Regions from separate parts of the Homo sapiens genome. Here region 1 is linked to region 2. Evidence: promoter capture Hi-C in human tissues and cell types (Jung and others, 2019). All regions are on one chromosome and are shown on one strand. The core of a region is centred on a gene start or on the middle of the fragment in contact, and the rest is flanking DNA. Distances in the headings are between cores, read along the strand shown.

The links. The method cuts DNA at HindIII sites, captures the fragments that hold promoters and counts their contacts. A contact is called where the count stands out against the background at its distance.
Region 1: a fragment that was not itself captured here is called in contact with the fragment with the promoter of CDH8 in region 2 in 2 of the 25 tissues and cell types used here (heart left ventricle and spleen).

What each region holds. Positions count from the first base shown.
Region 1 is chr16:62,125,130-62,131,126 of GRCh38, reverse strand. LOC124903778 (a long non-coding RNA gene) reads right to left here. Exons shown (of 2, transcript XR_007065218.1): 2 at 473-1,486. Among named protein-coding and RNA genes, the nearest start is that of CDH8, 92 kb to the right of the region's middle. The HindIII fragment of the contact is 4,758 bases long and covers 1-4,600 here.
Region 2 is chr16:62,033,478-62,039,604 of GRCh38, reverse strand. It overlaps CDH8 (cadherin 8), which reads left to right and starts at 3,167. Exons shown (of 12, transcript NM_001796.5): 1 at 3,167-3,525. It overlaps LOC124903777 (a long non-coding RNA gene), which reads right to left and starts at 3,015. Exons shown (of 2, transcript XR_007065217.1): 1 at 2,828-3,015; 2 at 2,172-2,392. RefSeq lists an enhancer at 4,865-5,366. The HindIII fragment of the contact is 11,196 bases long and covers 1-6,127 here.

The DNA of each region.
Region 1 (5,997 bases), core at 972-3,471, 92 kb before region 2:
AAAAAAAAAAATACAAAAATTACCTGGGCGTGATGGAAGGGGACTGTAATCCCAGCTACTCGGGAGGCTGAGGCAGGAGAATCACTTGAACCCAGGAGGCGAAGGTTGCAGTGAGCTGAGATTGAGCCACTGCATTCCAGCCTAGGTGATGAAGCAAGACTCCATCTCAAAAAAAAAAAAAAAAGAAAAGAAAAGAAAAAGAAAAAGACTTCCATGCACATGTTGATGACAGAATTTTCATGACATTTTTGGCTCATCTTTGAGTAGAATTTTCAGTCTATTTTAACTGTATCATTGAGGTTCAATGAATAACCATTCCGGTTTGCTTGGGTCTCTTCCACTTTAGGGACTGAATGTCCCACATGCCAGAGAAACCATCAGTCCCAGACAAAGGATAAGGTTTCACTATGAGTTTCACTATGTTGAAGTTTCTGAGGTCTAGTTTCAGAGAAAACCGACTTGGAGGCAAAGATTTGCATGCAGGGAATTTATTCCCGAGTTGTTTGGGAAAGAACACCAGTGAAGAAAGGAAGGCAGCAGAATTAGGCAAGGGCAAGCTGAACTATGATGCCATTACAATAAAGACTACAGCTGGTTCTAGAACTGGGAGGACCCATCAGAGCTGCCCCAAACTGAGACATGATGACTGGGTATCTGTACTCCCACATAGACTACGTTTTGGATTTTAATTTGAACCCAGACAGGGAGCATACACTTGGGCCCAGTCAAGGTTAATTCCTGGTAAGGAACTCAGTCATGAGTCATCAGCCGTCCACACTCTGATTCTCAGCAGGTGGGGGAATGAGTAGTTTGGCCATCAATGGAGGAATCGGTCCATACACTACAGCATCCACTAGAGAAAACAATTCTGCAACTAATCCCCCGGAGACATCCCTTCAGCTCTGCATGGATTCTTGTTTGCAGCTTGGCTCTCTGTGAGGGCTTATAAACTTTTCAGTAAGTCAGTTTCTTTTCCTTTATTTCTTCCAGTTTATTTTGGAGGTTATAACTCAACTGCTTATGCAGACTTTAATAAATGCATTTCCAGCTCTTCACAAGAGAAGCCCATATTAAATATTAGATGGATGAACTGTTCACCTCTTTACTTAGACTGGGTAAGTGAAGCTGTCTCTTTATTCCTCTGCCCTTTTCCCTATGTCTCTCCCACTAGGGAAACTTTTGCCAACATCAAAGTGTAGCCTAACTGTGGAAAGCTGACTTAGCCATAAGGATTTCTCATTCCTGTGATACATGTGATCTTTTCCTTTTACTGTCACTTAATTCTGCTCCCTGGACTTGCCTCTAAGGTGTCAAGAGAGAAGCAACTCTCTGCACTTCAAGGACGATGTTTCTTTCTTCTCAAATTATCACTTAACAGACGGGATGATTCTTCTCAGACCTTTTCAAATTTCCCAATGGGCTTCCAAATACAGGGCAAAGCACAGGCGATGTCTAGCAGGTTCCTGGCACTCCTATGTGCATATTACTAGAAGGAAAATGCAAACAATTATTGCTAATTAAAGATATCTGAGAAATGAGTTAAGATACATTATCACTGATATTACTATAGGTTCATAACCCTTTTGTTTTTAAAGCCATTTTATTGAATATTTATTAAAAGCTTCAACATTGGAGTCAAACAGTGCGGCTTCCAATTTTACCTCCTCCAACCCTTGCCTGTGTTATTCTGAGCAGGTTGGTTAAACACAGTGAGCCTCTGATACACCATTTGTCAAAGGGGGGTTATAATAAGCAGCACTGTTGTTAGCGTTCTGCCCAATCCTCTCTTCTGTAACAGCAAACCCCTCCCCCTACTGCGGGTTCTGACTTGTCCTTGTACACACATGCATGGTTCACCAAAGAATTTACCTTGGCTGATGAGGTCCCCCTGAAGTGCCTGGGAGGTTATGTACCCTCAACTCAGGCCAGCAATTGACTCCGAGATGAGCACGTGTCCTAATTCTGACCAAAGAATTTGGAAAATGAAAAGTGTTCTACTAAGAAAAGGGAATTTTTTTCTCATTAAGAAGAGACAATATTTTCCACCCTCTCTATGTTGCTGTGTTTCCATGTATTTCATGAAACAACTGCAGTTATCCATAAATCATATTGAACAACACAAAGTTGTCAGAGCTCACACAAAGCAAAACAAAACAAAACTAAACTAAGATTCTTGATGATACATATGATTGCCCAAATTACACATTCTGGTGTCTTCTCTACCTCTGGACTTGCTATTACGTTAGTTACACATGTCATCATTATTTATTGAGTTGATTCAAGGTTTTTCTTGCAGTCAAAAGCAAACTAACATATATACTGTGTGTGTGTATGTGTAGGGAGGTGGAGAGGAGAGAAGAAGGAAAAAAAAGAAGAAGGAGGAGAGGAGGTTCAGCAGGAGGAGGAGGAGGAGGATGAGGAGGAGCAGCAGGAGGAGGAGGGAATGGGAGAAATGAAAGGAGTGAGAATATGTGTCCTGGTGTCCAACTTGATTCCCTAGGTCTGGTCCCTGCACATATTTTCCCAATATATCACCCAGCTTTCACTTCTACTTGGACTTGATTGAATTGTTAAAGGGAACCTGAAAGATAAATATTGATTAATTCATCTTCAAAGTTCTTGGAACAGTTACAGTGCAATAAACACTCAATGGCTATTAGCTATTTATAGCATTCCCAATTATCAAGATAATCATTATGTTCTTTTATCTTATCACTCCTTATGAAGCTGAAGTAGTGGTTCCTAAAACTAGTTTCACATTAATGTCAGCTATAAAGCTTTTAAAAATTAATGCAGTCCAAATTTTCCACTTTTAATATAATGGGGTAACTGATTCAGGTCTTTAATTGAAACAAGGAAACTAGACAAAATTCATGAAACAAATTTTGTCAGACATTGTAGAACAGACAGCATAGGATTATTATACCTGAGAGACAGGAAATAAATGAAGTGAACCTTACAGTTTCCCCAGCTTTCAGCCTGGAAAACTTTTTAGATCCAGTACAGGGAGGAGGAACCCCAGCATCGCTAGGCAATATTCTTGGGATTTGGAGGCAAATATCAGATTTAAGGTAGGCTAAGGCAGATTTTTAATGCAGAATACTGGAAAGGATAGAGTTATGCAGAAAGAGAGCTACAGAAATTTGCAAAATGTTTTATGAATATGTTATTCAATACAAAGGTGCATATGTGTAGGGGATAATTTTGTAAACCCAGGCAAAGGTACGCTATCAGAAAGCTAAAATATAAACAATTCCCAGAGCTCACATAAGGCTGTGAGTCTTTTTACTTCTGACTAGTCAGAGTAGAGTTGGCTCCTTGTACATCTAGGGTATCCAGTAGGCACCAGATGAGTCACACCTTAGTAGCAGGGCAAAACTGTCTCCAGAATAAGAAATATGGTAGACAAACACTAACAATATTTAAACACAAGCAAACCTAGGAAGTCTCAAACTGCTCCAAAAAACAATATTCAACGTGTTTAAAGGAAGACAACACAATCCAGACCCTCATCAATGTGAGTCACTATGCCCAATGCCCACTAAAAAATTATTAGGCAGGTAATTCCAGGTAGCTGTTATGACTGTTTGTGTTTCCCCCAAATTTATATGTTGGACTCTAATCCCCAATGGGATGGCATCCAGAGTTGGAGCCTTTGGAATGTAATTAGGTCATGAGGGTGGAGCCCTCATGGATGGGATTAATGCCCCTATAAGAAGATATCAGAGAACTACTTGCTTGCCCTCTTTGTGCCGTGTAAAGATACAAGAAGTCGGCTGTCTGCAACTGGAAGAGAACCTTCACCAGCATGAATGATGCGGACATCCTGAGCTGAGGCTTCCAGCCTCCAAAACTGTGAGAAATAAGTGGTTTTTGCCTAAGCTAGCCAGCCTATGGTAATTTGTTATGGCAGCTGAAACTGACTAAGATATTGCCAAGGCAATATCAGGCTTGTAAATTTAATGTACCCAACCAGGGCAGTAACAGAAGCAGTAAAGAACTACAAGAATAAATAAAACTACAGAAATCCAAGCTGCCCACATAACATTAAGAGAGTGAACAGCTAAAATGTAATTGCCTGTAGGTAGAACAATAATGCCCAATTCTTGCCAGCTTTCTCTGTTTCTGGCCAGAAGAATTTGAAAACGCAAGTAAAGTTTGAAAAAAAAAAAAACTGTTGAAGAGAAAAGCGAAGAGGTATCTTTGGGTCTTTAATTTTTTCCTAAAGCCATATTATATAGAGAAAGTCTACCTTCTGTGTGAAAATGATGAAAAAGCATATAAGTAGATCAAAGCACTGAATATAGGAAAAAGGCTAAAAAGGGCTTTGTGGGCAGAAATGGGTGAAAAGAAAAGGAGAGTCACCCTTTGAAAACTGCATAGGAAAGAAAGAAAAGCAAGAAGAGAAAGTTCAGGATGTTGCAAGATAAAATAGAGTAAAAGGTATCAAAGAAAACACAACCTCTCCCCCAGCCCCTCCCTCTCCTCCCAAACTGGAAGGAAACGTACTTTGCTACTCTGACGATAGAGGGCACTCTTGAACTAGGAATCTTACAAACCATTCCAAAACTGTCTGACCATAGAAACGCAGAGTGAACAGTGTCTACTGGAGGGGGTTCGTCAGGGTCTCTCTCTCTCTCTCTCTCTCTCTCTCTCTCTCTCTCTCTCTCTCTCTCTCTCATATATATATATATACTGAATATATATATATATACTGAATATATATATATACTGAATATATATATACTGAATATATATATACTGAATATATATATATACACTGAATGTGTGTATACATATATATATATACTGAATACATATATATATACTGAATTTATACAGAGAGACAGTCTATATATTTAAATACCTGAAATATAACATTCAAACCTGAAATAAATATATTCAAGTAAGTATTGGGAGATGTGAGAAGATAATTTGAGGTGTGTGTGTGTGTGTGTGTTTGAGACAGGGTCTCACTCTGCCACCCATGCTAGAATGCAGTGGCAGGATCACAGCTCACTGCAGCCTCGAACTCCCCGGGCTCAGGCGATCCTCCCACCTCAGCCTCTCGAGTAGCTGGGACCATAGGCGCCCGTCATCATGCTTGGCTATTTTTCTTCTTATTATTATTTGTAGAAACAGGGTCCCACTATGTTGCTCAGGTTGCTCTCAAACTCTTAGTCCCAAGCAATCCTCCTGCCTTGGCCTCCCATAGTGCTGGGGTTACAGGTGTGAGCCACCAAGCATGGACTGAGAAGACAATTTGCATCAGAACTTCAAAAAGCAAAAATAGAAATGGACAAAAAAAGGAAGAAATAAAATATAAATTGATTGATTCCTGGAAGAAAACAGAAAAAAAAAGACAAAGTCATATTAGAAATTACAACTAACTTATGCAGTACTTAAGGTAAAAAGAAATTTGAATGAAAACATTAAAAAGGCACTGAAGTAGACAGGAAAACAATGCATTGAAAATGTGGTAAGTAAATTAAAATGATGTAAGAAAAAATGTTTGAAATTGAAGACAAAGAAAAAATAACATCTGTATATTTAGAGTCCCTGAGGAAGCTAAGATAAAAAACAAAACGATTAAAATGATTATACAAGACCACTTTCCAGAAATAAAAGAAAATTTGTATCAACATATTTATAGGGTCTGTGGGGTGCCTGTAAAAATTGACCTGCAATGATAAACTCTATGATATATACAAGTAAAGATCATAGTCTGTAGAGATTTTTAGACCATCCTTAGGACCTTCAGCAGAAAGATAAAATATTTCACAAGGGAAAAAGAGTGATTGGCCTTAGACCAAAATACAAAACGAGGCAAAGAGGAGAAGCATTTTCAATCAATGCTGGGAAAGAAAGCCTGAAATAAAGCTGGCATTACATTTTTTTTTCCTTCAGTTTGTTATCAACAGAACTGTCCATCAAGTATCAAGGCTATTTACAAAAATGTTAGACAAAAGAACTCGAAGAATTCTGAAACCGTGAGCC
Region 2 (6,127 bases), core at 1,918-4,417:
ACTTACGCTTCAATATTGGAATCCAAAATAAAATTTAAGTTTCTTAAGCTTAATGCCAGAGTTGTTACATATTACTTACCCTTGCCCCATACCCCAAATAAAGGGCATGGTTTCAGATATCTTCATCCTAATGAAACACAGGAAAGGGACCCTTCATTTCTGGAAAAATATTACATGGTAATTTGAGTTGTCATTTTTCATATGTCATATTCTTGAGATTTTATTTTAAATGATAATACCTGGCACCATAGATATCACATTACAAGCAATCCAATAAATCTAAAGGTTACCAGTAATCATAATATGGTAAATACATTTTGTTTTTAGTTTGTTTTAATTTTTAATTCTATCTTGATGAATGAAAACGACGAAAGATTGCATTTTAACGCAGCAAATAATAGTTATGTTCCATTCTGTCATCTCCTGCTCCAACCAGAGAAGCTGGAGACTTCCTAACACTGTCTCCCTCTTCTTGAGCTCTGTTTCCTATGAACCATCTGATTCCCCACTCTGCAACTAGCTGGGCACTTGGTTTACTGTGTCCCTTGGTCAAAATTACGACAAACATTCCAGCCATAGTGAAAAAATAAAAGTGTATTTTACTACATGGAGTCCCTCTCCATCTCATTCACTCTCTACAGTAGACTCCCCTGCAAAACTGCCTGCCTGTCACCGAGACCCAGGCTAGAGACATCCTGCCTCATTCTACTTTTTGCATTAGTCAGCCAAGGTTATTCTGAATGCAATCTTCTCTCCCTCCCCCCAACTCCTTCTCCAATTATACTCCTGCCCTATCAGATAATTCCTCACCCTTCCTCCCCCGCAATGCTCCACAACACATGCAATTTCACTTGCCATTCTAAAAAGCCTATGTACCACAGTCCTCTTCCCGCTGGAAGGCTGTAACCCTGGAGAGGATGTTGAAAAGAAAACACTTTCTTAAGGGGGTAGGCTTTCACCATTGTGACATTACACTGCATCTTATTAAGAGTGGGTGGAATTGTTAAAGAGATAAATGCCTTGTCTTTCAGCATCCCTGATTATTTTAGAAATATCCTTATAGGGCTTTCTAACATTATCCTAATCCTCTATCACACTGCTTAATCATCCAAACCTCTCTTAAGAATTAGTCAGGAAATTCCTATTGTAACGCTTTGAGCAGATATTAGCAGGTATAGACAGGTTACCCTGAATTCCAGAGGACCAAAATTCAGGGAAGACAATGTATATAACTGCTGTAAGAGTAAATATGGACAAGATGAGTCAAAGCAAACTCTTCTTAACCCTAGATACCCAAAGCCATTGGATTCTGGCTCTCTTTAAAAGCCATTGGATTCTGACTATCTTTACTATGTCAGCATAGTTTGTTAAGAAAATGAGATTTGAGGATATTGTCTAACAATCTGGCTTTTTTTTTTTTTTTTGAGACAAGTTTGTTACTTGTGACAATCCCCAGCTTTCAGTAGCACATGAGTTTTTTTGAGTTTTCATAGATGTAAGAAGTTACCCCAAGGAACGGTTCAAATTATTTGTTCAAGTGAAAATGAATATCTGAAATTAAGCACAACCCAAAATGTGATCTATTTCTTTGTCCACTTGGGACTGTCTGGTCTAGCAGCAGTTATAATTTGATTGAGCCTTGACTGCTGCTCCTTTTTCCAAGACAGAATTAGCCAATTCCAATACCCTGTAAGCAGACACAGTCTGAGAAGAGAACAAACAGTTACTTAGTGACTGCCTGGGGGAAAAAAAATACCACTTGGTTCTCTTCACCTCTCCCTCTCTGAAATAATCCACTAAGTTTCTTGCCTATGACAGCTAGAACATGAAACAATCAGATATTAGAGCTACAGCCAATACTCTTTTTCACATTTCACAATGGGTTGTCAGATGCAGCACACAAAAAAATGTCAAATTTGCATAAATATCATAAGCATGTTGTGCCTATTTTCTCATTCTGTTCACTCTTTCTCATTAATTTGAGTGAGACAGTACAAGCTCTACAGACTGTGCGTCTTGTCCCCTGCACCTTTTTCCCCCTTCTGTTCTTGCTCTGTCCCCAGATGGTAAAATCCACCCTCAGGCTCACGTCTAGTGCACACAGGGAAGGGACTAAATCGGGATCTCCTGTGGAGGGGAGGGTTTTTTTTTTTAAGGTAAGAATTTATTTGTCTTATATTTATCTAATTTTATTAGAAGATGATGACTGTGGCATCGTCTACATGTTAGCCCCAGTGTTGAAAAAGAAAAGAAATCTGGACCTCCTGATTCATGGTCCCTTTTACCCCAGGGTGGCCATTTCTCAAGATCTGAGCGCAGCCCATCAGAAGACTTGAAGTGACCACAGACAGGGCAGGTCTTGGTGGAGGCAGGAGAACCGCAAGGATGGTATCTGAGAGGATATGACAAGATCAGGGCACATTGAGAAGACCTAGAAATTCCTCCCCTATTTCCCAAGCAAGTTCTGCTTTGCCTGCCCTCCTCCCCACAACCAACTACTGCGCGCCCCTCCTGGCTGCCACTCTGCTGTCCCTCATCCCATTTTCCCAAAGGAGCACGGGGACATCAGGAATGCGCTCCATCACAGAACCGCGACACACAGCCTCTACATAGCGTCTGAGTTGCAGGCAGGGGTCTCACAATCACCCTATTCTGTACGCAAGAGGCCCTTGGAATAAAGAGGAGGTAAGCTGCCCACGCTCAACCCTTTGCCCTGTCGCGTCCTCTTCCTCCTACGGAAAATAGCTGCGGGTCACTGAGACGCTTTTCAACATAACGCCAGCCCCAGAGCTCAGGTGAGACCTCTAGAGAGAAAGCTCGCAGGTACCTCATCCGCATGCTGTTATTATCTGCCAGCCCACTTATCCAGGAGCTCGGTCCTCAGCGGGCTGCGCGCACCGCGCGGAAGGGCGCATCTTCACCTCGTGGCTCTGGCGGCAGAGACGCGCGGGGCTTGCTCGGGAGCGAGGAGCGAAAAGTTGTGCGCCCACTTGGGTAGGGGGAAAGAGAGCGATCGAGCCAGCGCGGGAGAGCGAAGGGGGAAGGCGGGGAGGGGGCGGGGAGGGGGGACTGCTTACATGAATTTCCAAGTGGTAGACCTGCCTCTGCGCTCTGCCCAATGAGATCCGTCAGGGGAGGCACCCGGCTCACTTTTCCACATCACTTCACAGTTACATTTGGCAGGCAGGCGGGCTCGCACGCCGGAGCGCTCAGCCCAGAATTAGTGGATTTATTTGGAATCTCCCTGCCTCCTCCAAGCTCCGCCGCCGCCGCCGGCTTGTGCATAGACGGTAGCGTCAAGACACCAGCTGCACTTTGGGTTGCGGACACCCAGAGCCCAGCGCGCCCGCCCTGCGTCTCCGCACCAAGCCCTGTAGCTCCGAGAGGCATGAACGGAATCCGGAGGCGCCTGCCTAGCGAGCGAGGACCGGTCGGCGCTTGCCGCCCTCGGGAGCTAACCCCGAGCACCTCCAGCCATTTGTGAACCTGGAGGCTTGACATTCGCCAGCGCAGGGCCCCACAAGAGTAAGTGTTCCCCTAACCCACCCCCGTTTTCCTCTATGTTCCGACTATCCAGAAGGGACCGTTTCTTATAGGAATTCCCATGCCCCTTCGGACACCTTGCGCGCCTCCTGCCCCTCAGATGGTGGATGAGGGTTCTTAGCATAGGCTCTGGGCTAAGCTGTGTCTTTCGCGATATCCGTGGGTGATAACGTACGTACGCCTCAAGGTTTTGCCTGACTGTTTTTGCAAACTGCTTTGACAACAGATCCTAGAGAGTAGCAAGCTCCAGGCTGTGCCCCTCCAGTTTTCCTGCCGGTTTCCTTCCCTGCGGCGACTTGGCTATTTCGCCGCTTCCCAACGCAGGCAGGCGCGGCTGCAGCCGCGCGCCTTCACTGCGGGGTCCGTGCGGTGAATGGGAAGCACCTGCAGCCCGCTGTGCGGAGGGTGCAAGCCAGGGAAAAAAGGAGGCGAGGGGGCCCGAGTGGTCTATGGCTGGTTTTCTGCACCGCCTCATCTCCGAGGCGAGGGAGGGCGACCCCCGCGGCAGGGCTGCGGGCCAAGGCTCAGCTGCGAAAGCCCCAGCGCGAGGCTTTCCCACAAGTGGCAGCTCCAGCTCTGGGAGGTGCGGTGCCCGCTACAAACTTGCCGGGCTCCGGAGTCGCCCTGCGGCTCTGCCCTCGCCAAGACGCTGCCCAGCACCCCTGCAGGACCCCCAGGCAGTGTCTCCCCGCAACTCGAGATTGCGTGCACGGAGGCCCCCTTAAGCCGGGGACTCCGTAGCCGCTCTCCTAGGGACAGCTGAGCCCAGACCTGCGCTTTCTGTGGTCTGGCCGCTTCTCATCCGGGAACCTTTGAGGGGCTGGTCGCGCCCCTCGCAGGATCGGAGGGAAAAAGGCTCTTGCCTAGGTTCTGCCAGTACGTAAGAGGTTCATAAGGGACCTACTCCGGTTCTCCCAGGATCCAGCCAAGGCTGGGAAACGGTAAAAAAACGTGCTGCCGCCAACGCTGATGCCAACAGGTATCCACAATTTCCTCCGCTTATTCCTCCCAAACACCAGAGCCTTCCCCCACCCAGTCTGGCAGAATCCTCAAAGTTTCCTTGCGGTTGACCCTTCCCCCGCAGGCACGGAGCCGGCGGCATGTCAAGGACTAGCCGTTTGCCTCCACCAGCGGAGATGGCAGCTGTTTGCTTGGGTTGCTAAATGTAAGAAATCAAACCACATTAATTGTTTATTGTTGCAAACGCACAATATTAGTCCGTAATGGAAAATCGGGCTGGCAGCTGCTCACTTCAGCACCAATTAAACGATAGAGCTTATCACCAAGACAGCGGGAGGGAGGAAAGGTCCTTTCAACTTTACCACCCTTTCCTGAAGATTCCACAAGAGTTTCCTCCTTAGGAGGCATGATTCGACAATCCCTTAGCGCGCCCGAGCTGCTAATCAGATCAGCTGCTTTCTTTCACCTGGCGTCATGATATCTGGGGGCTGACAATGGGAACGAGGGGACGCTAGGGAAGGTAAGCGAGAGTACTGTCCTCTCGCATCCGGTACCATCGCAAAGCAGATCCGAGGGATGGGGGCTGGCTTTTGAAGCGCCTGTTCTCTTTACAACACTCCTGACAGCCATCTCAATGGTTAAAAACCCTCCTTGGGCTGTCACCTCAGGCTTTATTATAGGAGCTTTTCAACTGGAAAACTATATGTGGGAAAGATGTTTATGTAAGATTCGAAAGTGGGATTTTCCATCCATTCAGCCTCGCTGCTGCACCTCACTGCATGCAAAGTGAGCCCTGTCGTTCATGCTAAATACCAGTAAAATCCCTGCCTAGATATTGCTTTGCATCAGCTGTGTCCAGTGTTGCAGGGATTTCTTCGTGTGCGTGTGTGTGTGTGTGTGTGTGTGTGTTTGAGAGAGAGATATATATATGAGGTGGGGGCTGGGAGTGGGATTCTTCTACAGAGAGAAGTGGTACCTTTGAAGGATGTTCTCTTAGGGTTACATTCTTTTTCCCTTAAAGGGAGTTCTCCATAATCATCATGTCCAGACATGTTTTTCCACTTCCCCGAGCTCTGTGGCTGGAATAAATTCTAGAGCTATCCCCCTTATTAAATAATAATTCTGATAATAATATTCTGTAATTCTGCTTTAGCAGATTTGAAGCTCGCTGTCACATAGTCATTTCATGCTGGAGCAGTCACAGTATTTTAAATCGCCTTTGATTTTTTTTTTTCTGGACTCTGAAGAAGGCGAGGAGTTGAGGAAAATCCCTCTGAAAACAGAGAGGGGAGTCTTTCCAGCAACTCCGGGGACTGCTTCATTCAGAGCCCTTCCGTGGCAGTTCACCTTCCTCATTCTGATCCCCACACTCCCCAAGTGAATGTCAAGTTATCCCCTGACCATCGCAAATAGGCCAAATGTTTTAGAGACACTGGCTAATGTGCTCTGAAACTTGTGCTGTAATGCTGTCATTCAAACTTTTTAATCTATTCTCCCTGCAAATTGGTTCTTACATTACTAATTATTATTACTGTTAGAAATCAGTGCTTCTGCTTTATCATTTACAGTCTCTTAAAGCCTTCAAGATGGGTAAATCTCTACATTCAAGACTCTGTAACATTTC